Regions from separate parts of the Homo sapiens genome. Here all the other regions are linked to region 3. Evidence: promoter capture Hi-C in human tissues and cell types (Jung and others, 2019). All regions are on one chromosome and are shown on one strand. The core of a region is centred on a gene start or on the middle of the fragment in contact, and the rest is flanking DNA. Distances in the headings are between cores, read along the strand shown. Region 1 has its middle 140 kb from the start of NEBL. Region 2 holds the start of LOC105376442 (a long non-coding RNA gene). Region 3 holds the start of PLXDC2 (plexin domain containing 2). Region 4 has its middle 30 kb from the start of MIR4675.

What was found. Contacts are between HindIII fragments. The study calls those that stand out against the background at their distance.
Region 1: a contact is called between a fragment that was not itself captured here and the fragment with the promoter of PLXDC2 in region 3, in 1 of the 25 tissues and cell types used here (dorsolateral prefrontal cortex).
Region 2: a fragment that was not itself captured here is called in contact with the fragment with the promoter of PLXDC2 in region 3 in 1 of the 25 tissues and cell types used here (H1 embryonic stem cells).
Region 4: a fragment that was not itself captured here is called in contact with the fragment with the promoter of PLXDC2 in region 3 in 2 of the 25 tissues and cell types used here (H1 embryonic stem cells and dorsolateral prefrontal cortex).

The regions. Positions count from the first base shown.
Region 1 is chr10:20,750,459-20,754,587 of GRCh38, forward strand. No RefSeq gene overlaps it. Among named protein-coding and RNA genes, the nearest start is that of NEBL, 140 kb to the right of the region's middle. The HindIII fragment of the contact is 5,109 bases long and covers 1-4,129 here.
Region 2 is chr10:20,596,126-20,600,792 of GRCh38, forward strand. LOC105376442 (a long non-coding RNA gene) reads left to right here and starts at 885. Exons shown (of 4, transcript XR_007062080.1): 1 at 885-1,185. RefSeq lists an enhancer at 928-1,428. The HindIII fragment of the contact is 3,153 bases long and covers 890-4,042 here.
Region 3 is chr10:19,814,644-19,819,228 of GRCh38, forward strand. PLXDC2 (plexin domain containing 2) reads left to right here and starts at 1,789. Exons shown (of 14, transcript NM_032812.9): 1 at 1,789-2,548. The coding sequence starts at 2,437. LOC124902388 (a long non-coding RNA gene) reads right to left here and starts at 1,585. Exons shown (of 2, transcript XR_007062078.1): 1 at 1-1,585. RefSeq lists an enhancer at 713-1,478. The HindIII fragment of the contact is 14,250 bases long and covers 1-4,585 here.
Region 4 is chr10:20,580,012-20,584,716 of GRCh38, forward strand. No RefSeq gene overlaps it. Among named protein-coding and RNA genes, the nearest start is that of MIR4675, 30 kb to the left of the region's middle. The HindIII fragment of the contact is 5,080 bases long and covers 1-3,817 here.

The DNA of each region.
Region 1 (4,129 bases), core at 719-3,218, 940 kb after region 3:
TTCAATAGCATATTTTTAAAAAATCATTCACCATGATTAAATGGGATTCATCCCAGGAATGCAAGGATGGTTCAACATATGGAAATCAATAAATATGATACACCACATTAACAGAATGAAAGGCAAAAATCACATAATTATTTCAATAGATGCAAGAAGAGGATTTGAGAAAATTCAACTTCACTTCATGCTAAATATTCTCAAAGAAGAAACATACTTCAACACAATAAAGGCAATGTATGGCAAACCCACAGCTAACATGATATTGAACAGGGAAAAGTTGAAAGCTTTTCTCCTAAGGTCTGGAACAAGATGAAGCTGCCCACTTTTACCACTTCTACTCAATATAATACTGGAAGTTCTAGCCAGAACAAGAGAAAGAAATCAAAGGCATTCAAATTGGAAAGAAGGAAGTTAAATTGTCCCTGTTCACAGAAAATACGATCCCATTAACAGAAAACTCTAAAGATTCCATCAAAAAAACTATTTGAACTAATAAATTCAGTAAAGTTACAAGATGTAAAATGAACATACAAAAATCTGGCAAGGCATGGTGGCTCACACCTGTAATACCAGCACTTTAGGAGGCTGAGGCAGGCAGATCAGTTGAGGCTAGGAGTATGAGAACAGCCTGGGTAACATGATGAAACCCCATCTCTACAAAACATACAAAAATTAGCCAGGTGCTGTGGCACACACCATAGTCCCATCTACTGGGGAGAATGAGGCAAGAGAATCACCTGGGCCCAGGGAGGCAGAGGTTGCAGTGAGCTGAGATCATGCCACTGCACTCCAGTCTGGGTGACAGAAGTGAAATCTTGTCTCAAAAAAAAAAAAAAAAAATCAGTAGCATTTCTATATATTAATAGCAAACTATCTGAAAAAGAAATCAAGAAAAAATACCATTTACAGTAGCCACCAAAAAAACCAGCCTAGGAATAAATTTAACCAAGAAGGTAAAATATCTCTACAATGAAAACTATAAAACATTAATGAAAAATTGAAGAAGACCAAAATAAATGGAAAAATATCCCATAATGACAGTTTGAAAGAATTAATATTCTTAAAATGTTTATACTTCCCAAAGAGATCTACAGATTTAATCCAATCTTTACCAAAATAGCAATGGCATTCTTCACAGACATTTTTTTTTTTTTACATATAGAAATCAAGGTATTTATTTATTTATTTATTTATTTTTTTTTTTAATTTTTTTTTTAAATTATACTTTAAGTTTTAGGGTACATGTGCACATTGTGCAGGTTAGTTACATATGTATACATGTGCCATGCTGGTGCGCTGCACCCACTAACGTGTCATCTAGCATTAGGTATATCTCCCAATGCTATCCCTCCCCCCTCCCCCGACCCCACCACAGTCCCCAGAGTGTGATATTCCCCTTCCAGTGTCCATGTGATCTCATTGTTCAATTCCCACCTATGAGTGAGAATATGAGGTGTTTGGTTTTTTGTTCTTGCGATAGTTTACTGAGAATGATGGTTTCCAATTTCATCCATGTCCCTACAAAGGACATGAACTCATCATTTTTTATGGCTGCATAGTATTCCATGGTGTATATGTGCCACATTTTCTTAATCCAGTCTATCATTGTTGGACTTTTGGGTTGGTTCCAAGTCTTTGCTATCGTGAATAATGCCGCAATAAACATACGTGTGCATGTGTCTTTATAGCAGCATGATTTATAGTCATTTGGGTATATACCCAGTAATGGGATGGCTGGGTCAAATGGTATTTCTAGTTCTAGATCCCTGAGGAATCGCCACACTGACTTCCACAATGGTTGAACTAGTTTACAGTCCCACCAACAGTGTAAAAGTGTTCCTATTTCTCCACATCCTCTCCAGCACCTGTTGTTTCCTGACTTTTTAATGATTGCCATTCTAACTGGTGTGAGATGATATCTCATAGTGGTTTTGATTTGCATTTCTCTGATGGCCAGTGATGATGAGCATTTTTTCATGTGTTTTTTGGCTGCATAAATGTCTTCTTTTGAGAAGTGTCTGTTCATGTCCTTCGCCCACTTTTTGATGGGGTTGTTTGTTTTTTTCTTGTAAGTTTGTTTGAGTTCATTGTAGATTCTGGATATTAGCTCTTTGTCAGATGAGTAGGTTGCAAAATTTTCTCCCATGTTGTAGGTTGCCTGTTCACTCTGATGGTAGTTTCTTTTGCTGTGCAGAAGTTCTTTAGTTTAATTAGATCCCATTTGTCAATTTTGGCTTTTGTTGCCATTGCTTTTGGCGTTTTGGACATGAAGTCCTTGCCCACGCCTATGTCCTGAATGGTAATGCCTAGGTTTTCTTCTAGGGTTTTTATGGTTTTAGGTCTAACGTTTAAATCTTTAATCCATCTTGAATTGATTTTTGTATAAGGTGTAAGGAAGGGATCCAGTTTCAGCTTTCTACATATGGCTAGCCAGTTTTCCCAGCACCATTTATTAAATAGGGAGTCCTTTCCCCATTGCTTGTTTTTCTCAGGTTTGTCAAAGATCAGATAGTTGTAGATATGTGGCATTATTTCTGAGGGCTCTGTTCTGTTCCATTGATCTATATCTCTGTTTTGGTACCAGTACCATGCTGTTTTGGTTACTGTAGCCTTGTAGTATAGTTTGAAGTCAGGTAGTGTGATGCCTCCAGCTTTGTTCTTTTGGCTTAGGATTGACTTGGCGATGCGGGCTCTTTTTTGGTTCCATATGAACTTTAAAGTAGTTTTTTCCAATTCTGTGAAGAAAGTCATTGGTAGCTTGATGGGGATGGCATTGAATCTGTAAATTACCTTGGGCAGTATGGCCATTTTCACGATATTGATTCTTCCTACCCATGAGCATGGAATGTTCTTCCATTTGTTTGCATCCTCTTTTATTTCCTTGAGCAGTGGTTTGTAGTTCTCCTTGAAGAGGTCCTTCACATCCCTTGTAAGTTGGATTCCTAGGTATTTTATTCTCTTTGAAGCAATTGTGAATGGGACTTCACTCGTGATTTGGCTCTCTGTTTGTCTGTTGTTGGTGTATAAGAATGCTTGTGATTTTTGTACATTGATTTTGTATCCTGAGACTTTGCTGAAGTTGCTTATCAGCTTAAGGAGATTTTGGGCTGAGATGATGGGGTTTTCTAGATAAACAATCATGTCGTCTGCAAACAGGGACAATTTGACTTCCTCTTTTCCTAATTGAATACCCTTTATTTCCTTCTCCTGCCTGATTGCCCTGGCCAGAACTTCCAACACTATGTTGAATAGGAGCGGTGAGGGCATCCCTGTCTTCTGCCAGTTTTCAAAGGGAATGCTTCCAGTTTTTGCCCATTCAGTATGATATTGGCTGTGGGTTTGTCATAGATAGCTCTTATTATTTTGAAATACGTCCCATCAATACCTAATTTATTGAGAGTTTTTAGCATGAAGGGTTGTTGAATTTTGTCAAAGGCTTTTTCTGCATCTATTGAGATAATCATGTGGTTTTTGTCTTTGGCTCTGTTTATATGCTGGATTACATTTATTGATTTGCGTATATTGAACCAGCCTTGCATCCCAGGGATGAAGCCCACTTGATCATGGTGGATAAGCTTTTTGATGTGCTGCTGGATTCGGTTTGCCAGTATTTTATTGAGGATTTTTGCATCAATGTTCATCAAGGATATTGGTCTAAAATTCTCTTTTTTGGTTGTGTCTCTGCCCGGCTTTGGTATCAGAATGATGCTGGCCTCATAAAATGAGTTAGGGAGGATTCCCTCTTTTTCTATTGATTGGAATAGTTTCAGAAGGAATGGTACCAGTTCCTCCTTGTACCTCTGGTAGAATTCGGCTGTGAATCCATCTGGTCCTGGACTCTTTTTGGTTGGTAAACTATTGATTATTGCCACAATTTCAGAGCCTGTTATTGGTCTATTCAGAGATTCAACTTCTTCCTGGTTTAGTCTTGGGAGAGTGTATGTGTCGAGGAATGTATCCATTTCTTCTAGATTTTCTAGTTTATTTGCATAGAGGTGTTTGTAGTATTCTCTGATGGTAGTTTGTATTTCTGTGGGATCGGTGGTGATATCCCCTTTACCATTTTTTATTGTGTCTATTTGATTCTTCTCTCTTTTTTTCTTTATTAGTCTTGCTAGCGGTCTAT
Region 2 (4,667 bases), core at 1,216-3,715, 780 kb after region 3:
TGTTAATTAGCTTTATCAATAGGCATAAACTGTATAGCAAGCTGAAATAACTGGATCTTATGTGGTATCTTTTAGCTACATCATTTAAGGCAGTTGATATTTCTATAAACAACATTTTTATGCACTTTCATGTTTGTGGTTAACCTGTTAAAGCTATTCTTCCCTTTTGTATTTCTCTATGTCATTATGAGGCAGTGTCTAAAGAAAAGATACATTTGACTGATAAATCCAAGGTTATCCAACATTAAGAAAAAAACATATATATACCCCAAAGGTTCAATCTAATGATATCAGGATCTAGGAATGAGGAGGCCTGGTCCCATAAACCCCTTGAAAACAATACATTTGATGAGGAACTTTTAATAACTCTCATCCTTAGCAATCATTTGTATGAAGAGTTCAGTGAGTCATAGCTGACCAGGGAAATATCTCACAACAATGCAGTCTGATAGCCAAGCACCCTGCTTTCATTCCTTGTAAAGTAAAAAACACTTGTCTAAACACTCTCAATGTAACACCATTATTCTCTTTTTTTCTTTTTGAATGGTAAATGACAGTATCAAAAAATCATGGAATTAAAATAGCAGCTCCTTTCTTTTTCGTGCATTTTTATCTAAATGAAATCTGCCATACTTCAGGGCCTATGTTCAGTGTGATACTTTTGTGGAGGCTCAGTCTATAGCCAAAACTGTGTGTGTTGATACTAAGATTCTGAAAACCTTCATTTTTTTATCTTTCAATTCTATTCATTATACTGAGACATTTATTTTCCAGAAGCAAAAAGGATGGATGTTAAAGTTTTTTTTCTGATTTGTACTTTTGATTCACGATCTGATTTTTCATAAAGAAGCCTCGACAGGGTTTGTTTTCCTATTGAAGATCTCACATTCAAGTCTTCACTGTCAAGAGCAAGCAGGGGATAGAATGTACCAAGTAACTTAGCAACCATCCAAATTCCATCCACATTCCAGGCCTGTGCTCCAGTTCTATGGGAAACACCATTCAATCCAGAAATAGACAAGAAAGAGGGTTGAAACCTTCATGACAATGCTAGAGAATTAACAGTGAGAGATGCATTAAGCAACAACACAGTTTTGCCTTTTACAAGCTCCCTGAGGTTTTTATTTCAGTCAGAGGACCAAGATTTCAGTTCAAGTCACTGGAAGAAAAGAGCTGTCATTTATGGTAAGAGAACAAATTTAAGGAGCAGAGGGAATTAAAAGTTCAGTTCTGACATGTTAAGTTCCAAACACCTTAATGGGTGTTTTCTCCAAAAGAGGATTATAGTCAGCAAGTAATTTTCAGGTGAGAAGGTGAGAGGGGTGAAGGAGAGGTAAAATGCTTGAGCCCCAAGGCATGCCAGCCTTTAGACACCTAAAGATGAGCATGAATGAGCTAAGGAGACTGAAAAACAGGTCAGTGATAGGGATATGCTAAAAGTTCAAGAAATTAAGTGTTAAAAAAGAAGAGTGATCAACTGAACAAGTACCGAAATAGGTAGGCAAGATGACAACGATATTGATTCTGGTAACAGAAAAGTCTTTGGGACATTAACAAGAGGCCTTCAGAGCAGTGCACGGGACAAAAGTCTGATGGGAGGGCCTTCTAGGGTGACTGGAAAGGCAGGGAGATCCCTTTTGTTACTTCCGGTGTGTAGCAGGAAAAGTAATTAACATATGGAGAATTCACAATCTTGCACTGCCTTTAACTTTGTGATTTTCGATGAACATTTACAATTAAAAAGTTAAGCTATATGATCTTTACCCTTCATTTGAACATTTTCTAGTCTATAATCCCTCCTTAAATAATGCTTTCCCAAATTTGACTTTAGTTTCTTAACTGTTTTTTAGATTTAAATATGCCTGCTTTCTCTGCGTTCTGTTCTCTATCTCTCTCTCTTCCCCCCACCGTGTGTGTGTGTGTCTGTGTGTGTCCGTGTGTGTGTTGCTGAGTCTCCCTTTAAGTCAGGTAGAAGAGGAAAACTACCATATTACCATTAATAAGTCCATTATAAATTATGAGCTAATATTATTTAAAACATAGATGAAAATAAAAAATTCAAAACTTTTGAAATGGGAAACAATCATGAAATTTCTGTCCAGGCTATTTTCTATGACATTATAAAACTAAATAGCCCCTCCTGAATTTAACATTACTATTTTGTCTTAGGCTTTTTAAAAAATACAGATATGTAGGCAAATAATTCTTCTACTCAAACATATCCCTACTTTATAAGGTGGCTTTCGTGCCACTTACTGAGTAATTTTATATTCGTGAAGTGCTTTGAGCTACGCAGGAAATCTGTGAAAAATGAATAAAGAACCAGCTATGTCTTCAATTTACTCCAAGATGGAATGAAACTTTTCATCCTGATTAGGGAATAAATATTAAATATAGATAATCTTGGATTCATGTTATGATGTGAACCTGTATGTCTCTCTTTCACTGACAAAATATACAGAAACACTTTATGGGACATTAATTCTTAAAAACCATGTCAAAATATAGGTCCATGGTGGAATCATTCTAAGGTGGCTCTCCAGTGCATCCTGCAAGGGTAGGGTAGGGAGGAGGCCCCCCAGCCTCTGTGTCCTAGCCTGGTAGCAGCTGTCGTCTGGGCAGCAAGGATGACTCACAGGGCTGAGATCCCACCAGGCTCTTGCACCGGGGAGAGCCTTGGAGAGCTGAGTCATGAGCCAGGATAATAAGCCAGAATTCACTTCCAAATCTGACTCAGAGCACAGGAGCTACCGAGACCAAAACATGTGGCCACTTGGGTGTAGCATTTGGTGCCCCTTCAAATCAATGTTCTTTAATACATGGTAAGAGACAGGACATTCTCTTCTATTGCTCAGAGCAATTTAGCTCTGGTAACACGCTTAAAACCTCACCCAGCAAAACTGAAGCTTTCCAACTATATTCCCATCCTCCTGAGAAGGTACTTTAGGAATAAGGGCCATATATTGTTACTAAAACATGACTCTACTGTGACCAAGGCATACCCCTCTTATTTCCTCTTTTACATAGACTTTAAACTGTAGACTATAAAGAATAGACTTCACTTTTAGAGCTGTTTAGGTTTATAGAAATATTGAGCAGAATGTATAGAGTAATATACCCCCTCGCCTACTCCAGTATAGTTTCCCTTATTAGTATCTTGCACTAGTCTGGTACATTTGTTACAAATGATGAATCAATATTGATACATAATTAACTAAAGGCCATAGTTTAAATTAGAATCAACTCTTTGTTGCACAACTCTATAGGTTTTGAAAAATGCTTAATGTCATACATTCATCATTATAGTATCATACAAAATAATTTCACTGTCCTAAAAACCTAGCATGCTTTACCTGTTCATTTCTCCATTTTCCTTTTGATGTAGTTTATCAAAGTATTCCTTACAAACGTTATCCCTCTCATCACATTTTCAGTGATGTTTCATTACCGGGGAGGTATTTTAGTATCCCTTACAGAGAAACAACTATCCAGCTGGTCCAATAGTAATCAGATTCTCACTCTATGGATGGAAAAATTGCCAGCTTCCCTTTCAATCTTACTGAAATAGAATTTCAAAAATTATGTCTAACAAGTGAGAAGGTGATAGGTGATTGCCATGGTGGGAATATGTCCCACAAAGTTCATGTGTTGGAAGCTTAATTCCCCATGCAACAGTGTTGGGAGGCAGGGCCTAATAAGAGGTAATTGATTAGGTCATGAGGACTCTGCCCTCATTAATGGATTAATGTCATTATTGAGGGAGTGGATTTGTTATTACAAGAGTGGGTTGTTATAAAAGTAAGTTTTGCCCCTTCTTGCTCTCTCTTACTCTCATACTGTCTTGCCCTTCCACCTTCTGCCTTGGATGACACAGCAGGAATGCCCTCACCAGGTGTTGTCACCATGGTCTTGAAATTCAAGATTCCAAGATTCCAAGATTTTGGATTCTCTAGAATCATAAGACAAATAAAGTTACATTGCTTACAAATTACCCAGTCTCAAGTATTCTGTTACATAGAGTACTCAAGAATTTTCTTAAACACAAAATGGACTAAATATGACTAGTGTTTATACTCAAGTTTGAAGAACAGCAAGAAAGATGAGGTACAATACTCATTAAAATTTTCATCATGCTAAATTCACAGAAATACTGAATAGAAGACAGAAAAAGGGGCAATGCCATCATTAAGGCAAGGTTAAGTTACATATCAAATTCTGGTTTCCTTTTACTAAGTTCTCTTGAAGAAGAGTGGGTCTCTTCCTAAAGCAAGTTCAAGTTTCCTTCTCTACAGGGAGGCATAAGTTCCAATCACTTGCCACAGTTGTATTCAGGACACGAGTTAGGTTTTTATAAGATATGTAGGCCTAAATATAATGGAAAGGCAGATCCATAATTCAGAGCACACAAAGAGTTTCCCAAATGACCCAAGCTTGGGATACTCTGTCTTGCATTTTGAACATCATGCTTATAGGAAAACTTTGATGGGGGGTAGGAAATGAGCTGAAACATTTGGGTTGTGAAATATCAACATAACTCAAGCTTTTCAGATTGATGCAAAATAGCATGAAGGAGAGACAGAGTGTAGTCACACTGAAAAAAGATATTTATAATCAGAGCTGAATTCAAATCCAGTCCCAGCCACTTAGTAGCTGTGTGACCTTGCCTA
Region 3 (4,585 bases), core at 539-3,038:
TCCGGGTACTCAAATTCGGATGTAATATTACATAGAACTTAAACACTCCTAGTTAAGCAGAAATAGAAAAACCCAGTTACCTAAGTAGAAATCAACCTATGGGAGGAAAGCTCAGGAAAGAGCCAGGGTCCTGGCATAATAAAGAGTATAGGCATGATATATGTTTGTGTTTATACGTGTATATCTGTTGTTTGGAAATAAAGAGCAAATTGAGTATTGGATTAAGGGAAACCTTTCTTGTTTCCCATGAGAGAGCCGTCCTTTGAGCATCACATTTGCAAAGGTAGATTGATTATCCGGATCCACTTCCAGTGGGTTTTGTGGCAAGCCGAGACATCTATTGACAGCATCCATAGACTCTTCAGAGCTTGGAGTGGAAAGGACCTTGAACTTAGAACACATGCACATTTATTATGTGATTGAAGTCGTCTTCTCTCACTTTTGCTTCAGTAAACACTTAAACAAAGCCATGTACTTTGCGGTAGGCAATGTTCTATATTTATTAAATATACAGTTAACTCATCCAATCCATTGCAACCACCTTATAAGGGCGTTACTCTAATTCTCTCCATTTGATGGATGGATAACTGAGGCTAGGAGATAAACTGCTCATTGCGGGGGAGGTGAAATTCCAGCCCAGGCTGTCCGGGCTCTAGATCCTGTACTTTTAACCAATAGCGCTTTGCTTCTTTTCCTTGTATTTATCCCTTTCAAAAATGATTAACTGTATGCAAAATAAGATATCAACTAACGAGAGGGCCGGCAAGGGTTAACGCGGAAACAGATCCCCGAGCTGAAAAAACAAAAACAAACTGGGGAGCCAGAGCCCCTGAAAGCTCCGGTAGGAAATTCAATGGGCCTCCTGTTCCTTTAAACTCTCGCTTTCGCCCCCGCTGACACTTTGCAAAGCCGCGGCGGCAGCGGCGGGGACCACGCTGCGGTGCACCACCTTCCGCCACCCTCCCGCGCTGGGCTGGGGTCGAGGGGGCTTCGCAGAGTCGGTAACCGAACCGGCTCTGGTTTGCTTTCTCCACTCCCTAGCCACTACCAGAACCAGCCTCCGCGAAGGGGCGAGCTGTGGTTAACCCTTTCGTGCCCAGGGAGACCCCGCCAGGGTCGGGGCGGGGCGCGATCGCCCCCCGCAGTCGGGCGCGAAGGCGGCCCGGGAGCCAGGTGGGTGTGGGGCGCAGTTGGCGGAGCTGCCCAGGGCGTGCGAGCAGGCTGCGAGGATGGCGCCCCGGCGGCGCGGAGGTACCGCCCCGCGCTCCCCCGATAGCTCCCCGGCCTGTCCCCTCTCCCCGCGCTCTGGGGCAGCCGGCTGCCTGGGGCGCACGGGGCTGGAGTGGCCCTCTCCCTCCCCTTCGCTAGGCTCCCCCGGCTTAATCTGTTGGCCGCGACTCCTCAGCCAGCCCCGAGGAAAGTGCAGCCATTGGACAGGTCTGTGCGGGCTGCCGGTTTCAGGGAGGAAGGTGGGAGAAGCCTGGAGGAGCGAAGGGGAGGGCGGAGGGAGGAGGGAGGAGGGTGCGGCGGCAGATCTGGCAAATTGCGAGCTGCCTTCCCTCCTCAAAGTGTGGAGAAGGAGCGCGGGGGAGCGTGGCGACGGCAGCGCCTCCTCCGCCACCAAACTCCTGGGGCTCCGCGGGGGCTTGGGGCCACCTCCTCCTGAGCCCGGAGGAACCCTCTCCCGATAGGTTCCAGCGTGACTCCCTCCCACTCCACCCTTTTCCTTTCTTCTTCCTCTTTTTTTTTTTTTTTTTTAAACACATTTTTTTCCTGGCTTCGGACCTCAGACTGCTGCAGCCCTAACCTTCCCAGGGCTCAGCTCTTTGGAGCTGCCCATTCCTCCGGCTGCGAGAAAGGACGCGCGCCCTGCGTCGGGCGAAGAAAAGAAGCAAAACTTGTCGGGAGGGTTTCGTCATCAACCTCCTTCCCGCAAACCTAAACCTCCTGCCGGGGCCATCCCTAGACAGAGGAAAGTTCCTGCAGAGCCGACCAGCCCTAGTGGATCTGGGGCAGGCAGCGGCGCTGGCTGTGGAATTAGATCTGTTTTGAACCCAGTGGAGCGCATCGCTGGGGCTCGGAAGTCACCGTCCGCGGGCACCGGGTTGGCGCTGCCCGAGTGGAACCGACAGTTTGCGAGCCTCGGCTGCAAGTGGCCTCTCCTCCCCGCGGTTGTTGTTCAGTGTCGGGTGAGGGCTGCGAGTGTGGCAAGTTGCAAAGAGAGCCTCAGAGGTCCGAAGAGCGCTGCGCTCCTACTCGCGTTCGCTTCTTCCTCTTCTCGGTTCCCTACTGTGAAATCGCAGCGACATTTACAAAGGCCTCCGGGTCCTACCGAGACCGATCCGCAGCGTTTGGCCCGGTCGTGCCTATTGCATCGGGAGCCCCCGAGCACCGGCGAAGGACTGGCGGGTGGGGTAGGGAGGTGGCGGCGGCGGCATGGCGAGGTTCCCGAAGGCCGACCTGGCCGCTGCAGGAGTTATGTTACTTTGCCACTTCTTCACGGACCAGTTTCAGTTCGCCGATGGGAAACCCGGAGACCAAATCCTTGGTAAGTAAGATGCACTTTAGCTTGCTGATTTTGTGCGCAGCTGAAGACCTCTCTGGCACTCTCGTGCTCCCTACCCTCTCCCCCCAACATCACCTATCTGCCCTTGGGAAACTTATTGCAGTTGCTTTTCGGCTAAACTTAGGCTTCCCAAATGGGGAAAGAGGGTTATCAAGAGAAGGACGCCGGGGACTAGGGGTTTTCTTGAGGCTTTCGGGCTTACTTCACCTGGGCGGCAGGGGGTGGTACTGTCTCCCCAAAGTAGCCCAGGGAGGGCTTCAGTGTGAGAGCAAAGCTTCTTCCGTGGATACATCTCCTAGGACCTGGCATCTCCAGGCTGTGTGCTCTCCGGCTCCTCCTCCTTCCTCGCTGCTGGTTAAACTAAGCGTGTGTGGTATGGGGTGGGTGGGGGACGTTGTGAAAGCCAGGGATTGCAGGTCTCCCCTCTGCACGAGAAAATTCCCTGTGGCAGCACCTTCCTTCCCCTGGCGATCCCCACTAGCTCCGTCTAGTGACCTGGGCCAAGCGGGCGCTGGAAGGGGGGCGGGGTAAATGCGGCCGGCGCAGAGGTGGGGAGCAGGTGGGAAAGGTGGAGGCGGGCTCGCCTCTGGAGACCTACCCCTGCTCCCATTGTCCTCCGCCTGCCAGCTTCACAGACAGGCCTGAACGCGCAGAGAGTTCCTTGGAGTGCCCTGATTTTGTCCCCGAGAGGGCCCCCAACCTCCGCATCCTCTTAGTGGCTGTCCTGGCAGGTGCGCGTCCTGCGGGGAGTTGCGCCCCGGGGGCTATCGCCGAGCGGGAGCTGCCTCCTGGAACCCTGCCCACCGCGAACTGGGTGCCTACTCCCCATTTCTGCCTTTCAGTGAAGAAAGTGAAGACACAGGCAGAAAGAGATCTTGGCAGAAATTGGTGAACTAGGGTGGACTTCGAGAGGAGGTGAAACGAGAGAAAAAGAAAAAAGAAAAAACTTGGAGGGAAAAGAAAAGAAAACGAAAACTTTCTCCCTAGGATAATCAATTTGTCAATTTGTTCTTTTCTGGTGTGTGTGTGTGTGTGTGTGTGTGTGTGTGTGTGTGTGTGTGTGTAATTTAAATGATTGCCCGGAAAGTATGCATGCGTCCTCAACAGTCAACTAGAGAGTCACAGATGGAAGGTTGGGGGACACCTGGGGATTCCAGGCAAGGTGAATCTTGAAGATCTTGAAGGAAACCCTTGAGTGAAATTTACCAAGCCGCGACTTAGAAGACAGTCACAACACTTCGCCTGTCCCTGGTGTAAACTGTTCTAGATAAAGCACAGATACTGACTCTGCGCTCTTATTTATGGTTGAAGGGGTGTGTGTGTTGGGGTGTATGTGCAGGGAGGCAATAGGATGACAACACTTTTAAAGCTGAGAACAAAATGCAGATTTCTTGGGTGTTGACTTGTCTTTGTCACATTTAATTGTTCTGCATTAATGGACATAGGTTGTTCTTGACTGTGTATGATTTATGACAGTAGACTATGCCTTTTGTTTATTTCTCTGATACGTTTCATTGGTCCGAAAAAATAACACTTTTAGCCTTCCAGGAAAGGACACAGTTATTTAAAAATTGCAACAGTAATTTTCATGTACTTATTCACGGTATGAATAGATGCTTAATAAAAACAATTAACTCCACCACAAACGAGGTTAAAAGGATGTGTGTGCCAATGTGCATCCCAAGTTGTTTATTTAAAAACTTCTTTGGCACTAGGAATAAATAATGCATTTGCAGTAAAGGAAAAAAAAATAAATGCCAGCAAATGTTTATCTTTTTATAAACCTGTTCCAGTAACGTTACTGAAAAAAGAATATATGTATACACACACACACACACACACACACACACACACAATACACACACATTTGCTATGCCAAGAAGTTCAGAAATTGAGGATGAAATTCATCCCAAAGTAAGATTGGCCATATAATTAAAAGCCCTTGCTGTGGGAAATATAAAATACTTAAAATGTTCAACATCAGTGTACTGGTATTTTAAGCTAGTTGAATATTTCTGA
Region 4 (4,705 bases), core at 28-2,527, 760 kb after region 3:
CCTCCCAAAGTGCTGAAATTACAGGTATGAGCCACCACACCCAGACTGGGTATAAATTGTAGATAAATATATACTTATTGGCAAAATTTGATCAAAATGTTTTACTGATGGGGTGTGATTTTTAAAAGTTTGGAGACCAGTGAAATGGATGATTTCTTCCTGTCTTGAAATTGAATGCTTTGGCAACAGAACTGTTTCTAGTTGAACAAAAAATAACTTTCCATTGGACTGATGACTATCTGGCAGAAGCCTGCCTGCGTCTCTGTGAGTGGATTACAACTGACTTGTGCCACCAAAGGTAGAAGGCTTGAATCTTACCGAGCAGAAACCTCTCAAGAGACAGACCCTCTATATGTTCTTCCCCATTTCCAGTCTCATGAGAGAATACATATGTACATTTTTATTTAAAAGCACAAAATACAGTGCAAGCTTTCATAACATGGGGCTCATGGTTCTCTGGAGGATTCAGGGGTGGATGCAGGAGATGTGTGGGCTTCTTGAAATCACATAACACATTTTATAAGGCTGGATATTTATGCATTTTACTAGGGAGTGAACTCAAAGCTTTAACATGATTTTCCAAGAGCAAGTGACTCTCCAAAAATTAGTGGCTGGTATAACTTTTTAAAGTACAGTTAACCCTTCAACAACACAGGGTTTAGGGGTGCAGATCCCCAACACAATCGAAAACTTGTGTATATGTTTTGACTTCCCAAAACTTAACTATTATTTAGCTACTGTTGACCAGAAACTTTACCATAACATAAACAGTTGATTAACATATATCTTGTATGATATATATATGATATACTACATTCTTACAATAAAGCAAGCTAGAAAAAAGAAAATGTTAAGAAAATCATTTTAAAAAAGTATGTTTACTATTAATTAAGTGGAAGTGGATTATCAAAGGTCTTCACCCTACTGTCTTCATGTTGAGTAGACTGAGGAGGAGGAGGAGGAGGAAGAGGAGGTGTTGGTCTTGGTCTTGCTGTTTCAGGGGTGGCAGACGCAGAAGAAAAGTCACATGTAAGTGGACCCATGCAGTTCAAACCTGTCTTGCTCACAAGTCAATTGTACTGAAAGTCTATCTTAAGGTATGTATTTAAATGCTAATATGGTTTGGACTTGTGTTCCCACCCCAATCTCATGTTGAATTGCAATCCTCAGTGTTGGAGGAGGGGCCTGGTGGGAGGTGACTGGATCTTGACTGCAGACTTCCCCCTTGCTGTTCTCTTGAACAGCAAGTGAGTGAGTGAGTTCTCTTGAACAGCAAGTGAGAACAGTGAGTGAGTTCTCATGAGTTATGGCTGTTTAAAAGTGTGTAGCACATCCCCCTTCACTCTCTCTTTCTCATGCTCTGGCCATGTAAGACGTGCCTGCTTCCCCTTCCACTTCCGCCATGATTGTATAAGTTTCCTGAGGTCTCCCCAGCCATGCTTCCTTTACAGCCTGCAGAACCGTGAGTCAATTAAACCTCTTTTTCTTTTTATAAATTACCTAGTCTCAAGTAGCTCTTTTATAGCAGTGCAAGAATGGACTAATGCAAATGCCTACTTTCAACAAACACAATTTACACATTACAACAAACACATTAATTGTTTTTAAAGAATTAAAGCACTTCAACCAGGTCATTGTGGGCAGAAAGAGTTCAGAATATTGTTCAAGAAATTGGCACACAAGTCAGGAACAAAGAAAACCCCAACTTATGCTTCCTTTTGATAGGGACAGGGGACAGAGAAATTCTATGCAGAAAAGGGAGGGTCCCTGGCAAAACCCCACCCTCAAGCTGAAAAGCTTGAAACCACAGCCCAAAGTGATAACTTCTATACCTGTTTTCCTGCTCAATGTTGCCTTTTCCTAAACCACACATGGCCCTGCTCTGCCCCATCCTGTGCCTATAAAAACCCCAGGCTCACCCGGTAGATGGGACTACAGCTGGATGTCGAAGAGAAGTGGTTTGACTTCAGAAGGACAGCTTGACGGCCTAACTCCAGAGAAGAATCTGGCTGGTGATGGCCAGACTTCAGGGAAAGATTTCCTACCTGCCCAGTCCCCTTTTCAGCTCCCCTTCCCACTGTGACCCTCTTTCGTTGGCAATAAAATTTCCCACATTTGCCATCCTTCAATTCATTCATGTGACCTCATTTTTCCTGGATGCTAGACAAGAGCTTGGGAGCCACTAGTGTGGATACAAAAGGCTGTCACACTGGCCCTCTGCCCTTGCTGGTGGAGGGCAGCCACCTCATGCAAAAAGGCAAAGGGCCCACTGAGCTGTTAACACTTAAGCAATCCATGGATGGCAGAGCTAAAAGAGCACTGTAACATATTCTCTGGGGCTTTGGGGGTTGCAGGCAGCCCCATCTGAATGCTGCTGTGGGGCCTGCATAGGGTTTGCTCCTGCTAGAGCCCAAAAGTGGCCACTCTGATGCCCGCACCCACTCACCTGTGTGCTCCCTCCCACAACAGGTGGAAAGTAACAGGTCCGAGTGAGTGGAGTTTGATCATGCCAGTGCCAAAGCGACTGGCTAGTTCCAGTGCTTGTTCACTCCAGTTCCTGCACTCATTTGCTCCTGCGTTCCATCCATCAAGGAGTTGAGAGTGGTGGGCTGAGTAAATGAGGCACCCCTGTCGTGAGTCTCGCAAAGGGGTCAAGGAAATATCCTGTGTCACCATATCCCCCCCTCCTCCTACTTTCTCTGCTTTTAACTGAGCACTTTACATGATTCCATTTTCTCTCTTCTCTTAAAATATCATTTATATATATATATATTTTTTACTTTTTCAGTGGTTTCCCTAGAGCTTGCAGTATATATTTACAATTAATTTAAGTCCCCTTTTGAATAACACTATACCACCCCACAGGTAATGCAAGCAACTTATAACAAAGAATTCCTACTTCCTCTTTCCTGTTTCTTATAACATTGCTGCTACTTCTTTTATTTATCCATATCCTATAATTACCCAATATGTTGTTACTATTACCACTCTGAATACTAGATCAACTAAGACAAAAATTATTTTACCTTCATTTATTCCTTCTCTGATGCTCTTTTTTAAAATGATTTTTAATTTCTTTTCATTTTTGTGGGTACATAGGTGCATATATTTATGGGGTACATGAGGTTGTACAGGCATGGAATGCATAATAATCACATCATGGGAGTGGGGTATCCATCCCCCAAACATTTACCCTTTGAGGTAAAAATGATCCTGTTATACCCTTTAAGTTATTTTAGAATGTACAATTAAGTTATTATTGACTATAGTCACCATATTGTGCTATCAAATAGTAGGTCTTATTCATTCTTTCTATTATTTTTTTCTTTCTTTATGCACATCCAAATTTACGACCAACATTCTTTCCTTCTTCCTGAAAACTTTTGACAGTCCAGGTCTACTGATGAATTTCCTTAGCTTTTGTTTATCCAAAAACATCTTTAATTCTCCTTTACTTGTAGAGGATAATCCCACTGGATACAGAATTCTTGATCCGTGGTCTTTTTCTTTTGACCCTTTTAAATATTTTATTTCACTCTCTTCTTCCTTGCATGGCTTCTGACAAGAAGTTGCATGTGATTATTATCCTTTATCTCCTACAGGTAAAGTGTGTTTTTTTTTTTCTCCATTTCTTTCAATATTTTCTTTTTGTCTTTGGTTTTCTGTAGCTTGAAAATTAAATGCCTAGGAACAGATTTTTTGATATTTATCCTACTTGGTGTTTGCTGGGCTTCCTGGACCTGTTGTTTAGTGTATACCATTAATTTTGGAAACTTTTCAGCCATGATTACTTCAAAACTTCTTCTCTTTCTTTTCCTTCTGGTACTCCAATTATATAAGTGTTACACCACTTGAAATTGTCCCAACGTTCCTGGATTTTCTGTTCTGTTTGTTCCACTCTTTTTTCTCCCCATTTCAGTTTGTGAAATTTTATTGACATTATCTTCAAGCTCATTAACTATTTCCTCAGATGTATCCAATCTCCTGAGGATCCCATCAAAGGTATTCTGCATTTCTGCTACAGTTTTTTAAATTTCTAACATTTCCTTTTTATTCTTTTCAGTTTTCATCTTTCTGCTTATGTCAGATTCATTAGTTCTTGCATGTTGTCTGCTTTTACTGGTACAGCCCTAGCATATGAACTATATTTTAAATTCCCTGATGATTTCAAATTTGTGTCATATCTGATTCTGACATTTGCTTTGTCTCTTCAAAATTTGTCTTTCTTTTTAGCACATCTTGTAATTATTTTGTTGTTAAAAGCCAGATGTAATGGGTACTGAGGTGAATACATCTTTAGTGTGATGTTTTATGTTAATCTGGCTAGAAGTTGGACTGGGTTAATGTTTGCTGTAACTGAAGGTGTCAGAGACTCCAGTTTTCTCTAGGGTCCTTATTTTTGCCTCTTCTGTAGTCTTTAAATTTCCCTAAAGACTCCTTCTTAAATAAAGTCTGTGCCTTATAGCTCTTTCAGCTGCAATCCACTGTTATGATTTTGGAACCCTGTTGATTTGGTGGTAAAGTGTGGAAGAAAGCAAGCCTTCTCTAATCTCATGATTAAATCCCAGTCTTTTTGGAGGCCTATGTCCCTAGGATGTGAGCTTCACAAGTGTGTCTTAACTGTAATCTACAATTAGTTAAGACAGGAAGTCTAGAGGGAAGTCTAGAGGGTGCTGAAGTTGGGTAACTGCCTTCCTCCCAGGGG